Regions from separate parts of the Homo sapiens genome. Here region 2 is linked to region 1. The links are contacts of gene promoters, found by promoter capture Hi-C in blood cells and fetal thymus (Javierre and others, 2016). All regions are on one chromosome and are shown on one strand. The core of a region is centred on a gene start or on the middle of the fragment in contact, and the rest is flanking DNA. Distances in the headings are between cores, read along the strand shown. Region 1 holds the start of CFLAR (CASP8 and FADD like apoptosis regulator). Region 2 holds the start of TYW5 (tRNA-yW synthesizing protein 5).

Region 1 (4,083 bases), core at 1,162-3,661:
CTGGGTGGTAAAATTCTCCATGCGTGGTCAAACGGCTTATGCATAGCTCAGGACCGTTACGTGCGACCCCACCAGGACTGAGTGGGGACAGCCGCTGCGCCCCCACCACCTACTAGGAGCTGCGGTAGGACCTCCAATGCCCCAGGGGCCTAGGCAATTTCCGCTTCAGCTTCCTGGAGGTCCCCAGCCCAAGGCTCAAAAAACTGCACACTATCCGGCCCACCCCGGGTCGCGCAAGACTTTCGGGGGGAGGGGGAAACCCAGCGACCCTGCAAATGGCTTCACCTTGGAAACCGGTATAAGGAAGCAAGTAATACCGTGTTAAAAGAAGGTCAAATGTCAGTTACAAACAGAAACGTAAAACATAAAGTCGCTAGAGAAAGCCATTTTAACGAGGACATTTGACCCAAAAGCTTAAGTAAAGCAAGTATTAACAAAACAAGAAAATGGATGTAAAGCAAACAGTAAACATTAAAAACTCCCTTTCAACCCAGTCTTTTTTGTTTAGATCTTGGAGTTGGGCCGGGCATGGTGGCTCACGCCTGTAATCCCAGCACTTTGGGATGCCGAGGCGGGCGGATCACCTAAGGTCAGGAGTTCGAGACCAGACTGACCAACATGGAGAAACCCCGTCTCTATTAAAAATACAAAACTAGCCGGGCATGGTGGTGCATGCCTGTAATCTCAGCTACTTGAGAGGCTGAGGCACGAGAATCGCTTGAACCCGACAGGCGGAGGTTGCGGTGAGCAGAGATAGTGCCATTGCATTCCAGCCTGGGCAACAAGAGTGAAATGCTGTCTCAAAAAAAAAAAAAAAAAAAAAAGATCTTGGAGCTCCAGCCAGGTTTTTTGTTCAACGAAACTTTTGTAAGGTTATTTAGGGGAATCACCAAACCGAAAAGTGCCAAAAACTCCGTTCCTCTTATCGGAAATCTCTCTCTAAAGCAGGTCAAACCTTCCAGAGCCCGCTGTCTGTTGTAGATTATCGCAGTTTGTTGATGTCCAAAAAGCTTTACTTATGCTATACGCTATCCCCCTACTGGTTTCACCCCTCATTGCTTAAGAACAAATTTCAAATGTCAACCAATTAAAATATTCGCAAGACCTCTGGCGTCCTTGAATTTACTTCCTGCCCGTGGAGCCAAAAACTGATTCTGAATTTCAGTGGCCTTTGTTCTACTGCGTGCCACTGTTAATATTAAAAGAACATGGCCTTCTGTCCAAATCCAGACACCCTCAAGCAAGAACATCTTGAAGCCAGTTTACATTTCCCAGTCGTTTTGAGGCGGTGGAAAAGTGGCAGAAACAGGTTCATTTTAAAAGGCTCTAAAAACTTTTCATTAGCCAAGCATTCCCAGCTTTCCCAAGGCAAGCTTTCCTTGCACTTGGGCAAAATAGACATTAAACTGCTCTGGAAAATAACCGCCCTGACCAGGCTATTGTGAAATTCCCTCCAGGGCGGCGGCTCCCACTGAGTGAGATCGAGCGCATACACAATTGTTGGGAAAGTCCACGTTCCCAACAACTTTCGAAAGGAAAAATGCCAGATCTTCTCAACAGTTCACCCCAAGAATTGAACTCTCAAGATCATTTTAAGCAAAGTTTACACGACGCTGAGGGCCCGCCACTGAAGCTCGCGGGTGGGCCTCTGGGGCTGCGGCTGCAGGGGGCGGCCAGAGTTGGCCAAGGGTTACTTCCGGTCTCTCAGGTCCATCGGGGTGCAGCTTGTACCGCTGTGGCCCAGGTCGCCCCTTTCTGGGAATCCGGGGCGGAGTTGCGGGTAGAAGGGGTTCGGGGGTTCGGAGCCGGGCGGAAACGGAAGCGGGGGCATTCCGCAAAGCCCGCGGTAAACAACCGAGATAAGGAACCTACAAAACTGAGTCAGGTTCCAGAAGCGCCCCCGCCATCCCCTGGCCACTGCCGGCCACCTGCAGTTTCCCGGAGCGCAGGGCTGTGAGGAGCGGCGCGGGGTGGGACGCGGGGCGCGGCGGCGCAGGGCCTGCTGCAATGCTGACTCAGGGCCGGGCGTCGGGGCTTGGGGTCTGGGACAGCTCCGGCGCCGCCAGCGCGGGGGTCGAGCGCGGGGCACGTACCGTCCTGTCGCGGCCGGACTCTCCTGCCGCTGCCACCTCAGCCTTCGCTCCCCTAGACGCCGGGAAGGCGCACCCAAGATGGAGGCAAAGAAACCGAAAGCCTGGAAGCGGACTTGGTGCTGGGCGATCGCTGTTCGCGGCGCTTCTCTCCTACACCTCCTCCCGTGGTCCTTGTTGTCTCAGCTGTCACTGGACAAAAGTCCAATAGCCGGCACTCACTGTGTGAGGCCGAGTCCCCACCCCTAGCTCCGGGAGTCCCTTTTAGTTGAGACTCGTCGGTGAGGCTGCAAGCTCGCTGTTTCCTGCTATGGCTTGTGTGACTGAGTATGCAGTAACCGGGGGTGGATGTCGACACAAGTTCCACGCGTTAGGAGTAAACACTGCGAGTGTTTTTTTTTTTCTTTCTTTCTTTCCTTCTTTTTTGAGACAGAGTCTCGCTCTGTGGCCCAGGCTGGAGTGCAGTGGCGCAATTTCAGCTCACTGCAACCTCCGCCTTCCTAGTTCAAGCGATTCTCTTGCCTCAGCCTCCCGAGTAGCTGGGACTACAGGCACGCGCCAGCACGCCCGCCTAATTTTTGTGTTTAGTAGAGACGGGGTTTCACTGTTGGCCAGAATGGTCTCGAACTCTTGACCTCGTGATCCGCCCGCCTCGGCCTCCCAAAGTGCTGGGATTACAGGCGTGAGCCACCACGCCCGGCGCGAGTGTTTACAATTGTTGTCTGGGAGTCATAGCAAACGTGAACACACTTTGTGGTTTTTTGTGTGTATGTTTTTGTTTGTTTTTTTTTGTTTTCCTTCTTGAGACAGGGTCTCGCGCTGTCGCCCAGGCTAGAAGGCAGTGGCGCCATCACAGCTCACTGCAGCCTGGATTTCCCGCTCTCAAACCATCCAGCCCTCAGCCTCCCAAGTAGCGGGGACCACAGGTGCAAGCCACCATGCCCGACTAATTTTTTTTTTTTTTTGTATTTTTAGTAGAGATGGGGTTTCACCATGTTGGCAAGGCTGGTCTCCAACTGCTGGCCTCAAGTGATCCTTGCCCGCCTCGGCCTCCCAAAGTGCTGGGATCACAGGCGTGAGCCACCGCGCCCCTCTACGTTTTTATTTATTCCTAATAACTACTTTATTGTGATTCTTAAAGAGCTTTAACTTTTCTTGAGATAATTTTAAACTCACAGGAAAGGTGAAGAATAATACCAAGAGAGACTAACAGCAGGACGGCATGAAGAGCTCGGGATTCACCCCTAGTGAAACTGAAAATTATTTAAAACAACAAACAACCATTAACCATTTAAAGCCTTTGAAATGGTCCTAAGGGCAAACAGCAAATGAAGAAACATCTGTTCCAAAAAATCTATGAAAACTCTTGGATCAGAATGTGAGAGTCAGTCTGTGGTATTTAAACCAAACCTCTCCCTTTGTTCAGCAAGAGACTCCACTCCAGACTGCTGCAACTCAGAACCTCTCTCTTCCCACAGCTCCCAGTCAGAGACCAGCATATCAGCATTTCTCATCTTGCCCCTAGCTACCTGATGCTGAAGGTAAATCCTGGGGGAGTGTGGTGGAGAGGTGGGAGATTCCTTCTTCCATCCAGAGGCTCTACCTTGGGTGGAGTGCTGAGACACCAGAGGAGACTTCAGCTCTTTTTCTCCATCACTTTCACCCCATATTCACCCCCAACCTTTTTTTTTAATCTCTCCATCTTCCCAAGATAGTTATATTCTGTTTGATTAATCTTCAGTATATATGCTATTATAATCATGTAAACGGTAGTCACAGCCAAGTTATGTACCAAACTATGATTACTTTTCCTTTCCCACACAACTTTTAGTTTTTTCTGGAGTTAATAATTGTCTTGTTTTGTTGGTTTTTCCATGTAATTCTATCCTAAACTCTGTCAGTTATCCAAGTTTGGTTTTTTGTTTGTTTTTGAGACAGGGTCTCACTCCAGGCTGGAGTGCAGTGACCCGATCACAGCTCACTGCAGCCTTAA
Region 2 (4,083 bases), core at 613-3,112, 1.2 Mb after region 1:
TGGCGCAATCTTGGTTCACTGCAACCTCCACCTCCCGGGTTCATGCAATTCTCCTGCCTCAGCCTCCAGAGTAGGTGGGACTACAGGGGCTCGCCACGCCTAATTTTTGTATTTTTAGAAGAGACACTGTTTCACCATATTGGCCAGGCTGGTCTCGAACTCCTGACCTTGTGATCCACCTGCCTCGGCCTCCCAAAGTACTGGGATTACAGGCGTGAGCCGCCATGCCTGGCCGACTTCTATTGTTATCAGCAGTTCTGCAATGTTTGGGAACGATACAATCTGTAAAGGAGTCCAAAAAAAAAAAAAAAAAGCATGTACCCACAAAATCTACAAATAATCTCAGGACCCAAGTGACCATATGTCACAAGGGTAAGGCAAGGTATAATCAGCCATTCAGAAACAGGTACGTAACTAACAAAGTCAGGGATAAGAATCTCTAAAGGCTAAATATTTTCTGTGTGCAGGGTGCTGTGCACTTAGCCACCAGGCAGTCTCAGCAAATCCTTTGAAAGGGTAAAATTGCTCATCTCCAGTTTAATCTTTACGGAGTATGGGGTGGTGTATTGGTCGGCTCTGTCTAATAGCTGGCAGGAAGTTCTGCTCTTCTACCCAAGGTGACATTACAGCACTTTGGAAATGTTATCTCAATTATTCTTCAATCTTACCCATTTATTAATGTATTCAGCAAACATTCATGGAGTGCCTACTATGTGCCAGGCATTGTCTTGCCCACTTTGTAAATTTGAAAATTATGTTCAGACAAGATGAGCCATATAGCTTTTTCTTTCTGAGACAGGGCCTGGCTCTGTATCCCAGGCTGGAGTGCAATGGCACGATCACAGCTCACTACAACGTCCAACTCCTGGGTTCAAGCGATCCTCCCCTTCAGCCTCCCAAGTAGCTGAGACTACAGGCGTGTACCACCATTCCCGGCCCAGAAGCTTACTTTAAGTCAAGCAATGGCTGGAAGGCTCTATGTCTGGGCCACTAATCACGTTTGATCACTTGTATCCCAGTGAAGAAAACTCACTGCTAAGCACTTCTGCGAGCAATAGTTGAACTCATTAGAGACGGATAGGTCAATCAGGGAAATAAACAAACCTGCTTCGCTCCCTCGGAGAACTCTGTGATGCTGAACTCTTTGTCGAAATAGGCCCAGATAAGGAAGGCCTTAATTCGAGTCCTAACCCAGTTGATGGGGTTGGAGAATCCCAGGACGATCATCTTGGTTTTCTGGTGCTGCTGGGGCTTCTCCTCCGTGCTGTAGCTGCGCTGAGGGCAGGCAGGGAAAGAAGCGAAGGCTGCGGGGAGTCCCGGGCTGCTGAGCACTGGCCACCGGGAGCCCTGGGCAGGTAGCGCCGAGGCTGCCAAGGCCCTAGCGCTTCGTGGAAATAACGCCGCTCCCAAGCCGAGGCGACAGCGGCAGAAGTAGCAAAGTGTGGCCGACGGCAGCCTCACCTCGGCCACAGCAGGAGTCCGGAGTCGGACGGCCCCGCAGGGCAGCGACCGAGAGTGCAGGAACTGGGGTAGCAAACGAGCGGCCAGCGCCATTTTTATGACCCTTCACACCGGTGCCTGCCGGTGCTGTATGGAAAGGAAGTCGGTGGGAAACCGCCTCAGCGGTGTCGGAGAAAGAGACTGGAGAGCAAAGTGGACCTGTTGCTGCAGCCTCTGGTGAGTCGGCCCCGTCCCCGCTCTCCAGCACGCAGCCCAGGCCGAGGCCCTTCGGCAACCCGCCCCGCGCTCGGACCCAGCCACTCTGGAGTCTGCCGGCCTCGCGGACCTTTTCTCTGTCGCTCGTGTTTCCGGGCGGATGGCGCTGAGGAACGCTTTAGAGCCGAAGTTCCGAAGACCTGGAAGAGGGCAGGCGTGAGCAACCATGGCCGGGCAGCACCTCCCGGTACCCCGGCTGGAGGGCGTTTCTCGGGAGCAGTTCATGCAGCACCTCTACCCACAGGTGAGGCCCTCGCGCGGGGCAGAACCTCGAGAAACCAGCGAGAGACACGTCTTTACCTTTCGGACAGCTGGGAACTGGTTTTTAGAGACCCAGGGTGTGGGAAAGAGGCGCAGGACGGCAGCAGATCACTGGTTGGCCCTTAGACCAAGGGAAAGGTGCACGGGGGACGCCGACTGGCTCCTCTATTGAAATTTCCGGAGAAAGTCCCATGTTTCTGGGGAGCAAGATGATGGCGGAGAGCTGAGTGCGAGAGGTATTTTGCCTAAACTCTTTACTCCGCATCTGTCAGTCTGCTCCGAATTAATGGATTTGAAGGCACAACTTTTCACTCCACTGAGCCAAAAAGGAAAGCAATGGGATTCCCCCGGAAAACTCCTACTCGTCTTGAATTCTAACTTACTTAGGTTCTAGTTCCGACATTGGAGTCTTTTATACCTGTAGTTAGAACCTTAGGTCTTTAAAAGAAAACTCATAGAGAAATATTAGGGAAACAAAAAGTGCTTTTACTTGCAGTGCTTTTCAAGGGAGTCCAGACCTAAGAAAAACAAGGTATTAAAAGGAAAAATCCACAGGATTACAGTAAGTCAGTTTATGGTAGGAAAAATACCCAGCAATTTTCTTACCTGATATTTACATTTATAAGGGTGGTCATAGAATTACAGTTCTGGGGCCGGGCGCGGTGGCTCACGCCTGTAATCCCAGCACTTTGCGAGGCCGAGGCGGACGGATCACCGGAGGTCAGGAGTTCAAGACCAGCCAGTAGAAATCCCATCTCTACTAAAAATACAAAATTAGCCGGGCATGGTGGTGGCCCATACCTGTAATCCCAGCTACTCGGGAGGCTGAGGCAGGAGAATCGCTTGAACCCGGGAGGCGGAGGTTGCAGTGAGCCGAGATCGCGCCACTGCACTCCAGCCTGGGCAACAAGAGCTAAACTCGGTCTCAAACAAACAAACAAAACTACAATTCTGAGTGTTACAAAAGTCGGATGGGCTGGGCGCCGTGGTTCATGCCAGTAATCCTAACATTTTGGGAGGCCCAGGTCGGTGGATCACTTGAGGTCAGGAGTTCAAGACCAGCCTGGCCAATATGGTGAATCCCCGTCTGTACAAAAAATACAAAAATTAGCCGGGCGTGGTGGCGCACGCCTGTATTCCCAGCTACTCTGGAGGCTGAGGTCGGAGGATCTGCTTGAGCCCGGGAGGTCGAGGCTGCAGTGATCCATGATCCTGCCACTGCTCCAGCATGGGCGAGAGGGTGAGACCCTAGCTTAAAAAAAAAAAAGGCGGGGTTGGGGGGATGCGGGAGGAATGAAGTTTTTCTTTTGATAGCAACCTACGGGAGAGGATTCAAGCCTTTATTAGTTTGGAGACTTGTACTAGATGGGTTGTTCTTGCTCTCCCTGTCCTTAGACACCCCCTATCTCAGAATGTGCTAGACGTAAGTTGCCTAAAGGGCAGTGTTGTGAAGATTAGGGTATGTGGAAGTGCTTTGTAAGAGTCATAGCAAAAGGTATTTTGTAATTTAATCTCTTCAGACAAGACATACAGCACAAAGCATCATTACATTTTAAAAAGTCGAAAATTACAAACAACTTTCTCTGGCCATGGGCAGTAAAACTAGAAATTAATAACAAAATTGGAAAAAAAGACCTTTCTATCTGGAAACACTAAAAAGTATGAGGGGGCATAGTGCTATGAGTTTTTTGTTAAACATTTTCTAATAACTCCATAATTAACACTGTATATTGTACAGGTACATGAATAGATAGACCAAGGGAATAGAATAGAAAGTGCAGAAATACCTATTCCTATGGAAATTTAGTGTATAATAAGCATGACATTTCAAAAATCAATAAGGCACAAAATGACTTTTTAAAAAATAGACTGTTTTTTCGAGGCTTTATAGGTTCACAGCACAATTGACCAAAGGTACAGAGATTTCTCATGTCCTTTCTGCCCTGACACATGGATAGCCTCCTCCATGATCAACATCCCCTCATTAGAGTGGTATATTTGTTACAATTGATAAACCTACATTGGCACATCATTTTCTTTTTCTTTTTTTTTGAAATGGAGTTTTGCTCTTATCGCCCAGGCTGGAGTACAGTGGCACAGTCTCGG

Evidence for each region. The method cuts DNA at HindIII sites, captures the fragments that hold promoters and counts their contacts. A CHiCAGO score of 5 or more calls a contact.
Region 2: the fragment with the promoter of TYW5 here is called in contact with the fragment with the promoter of CFLAR in region 1 in 1 of 17 cell types (fetal thymus); the score reaches 6.8 in fetal thymus.

What each region holds. Positions count from the first base shown.
Region 1 is chr2:201,114,492-201,118,574 of GRCh38, reverse strand. CFLAR (CASP8 and FADD like apoptosis regulator) reads right to left here and starts at 2,411. Exons shown (of 10, transcript NM_003879.7): 1 at 2,094-2,411. It overlaps LOC105373836 (a long non-coding RNA gene), which reads left to right and starts at 1,891. Exons shown (of 3, transcript XR_923785.3): 1 at 1,891-3,631. RefSeq lists enhancers at 1-127, 476-525, 2,166-2,425 and a silencer at 1,926-2,135. The HindIII fragment of the contact is 6,122 bases long and covers 1,376-4,083 here.
Region 2 is chr2:199,953,270-199,957,352 of GRCh38, reverse strand. TYW5 (tRNA-yW synthesizing protein 5) reads left to right here and starts at 1,862. Exons shown (of 8, transcript NM_001039693.3): 1 at 1,862-1,960. The coding sequence starts at 1,883. It overlaps MAIP1 (matrix AAA peptidase interacting protein 1), which reads right to left and starts at 1,771. Exons shown (of 5, transcript NM_001394955.1): 1 at 1,105-1,771. The coding sequence starts at 1,554. RefSeq lists enhancers at 1,339-1,438, 1,459-1,618, 1,789-1,908, 1,019-2,218. The HindIII fragment of the contact is 7,808 bases long and covers 947-4,083 here.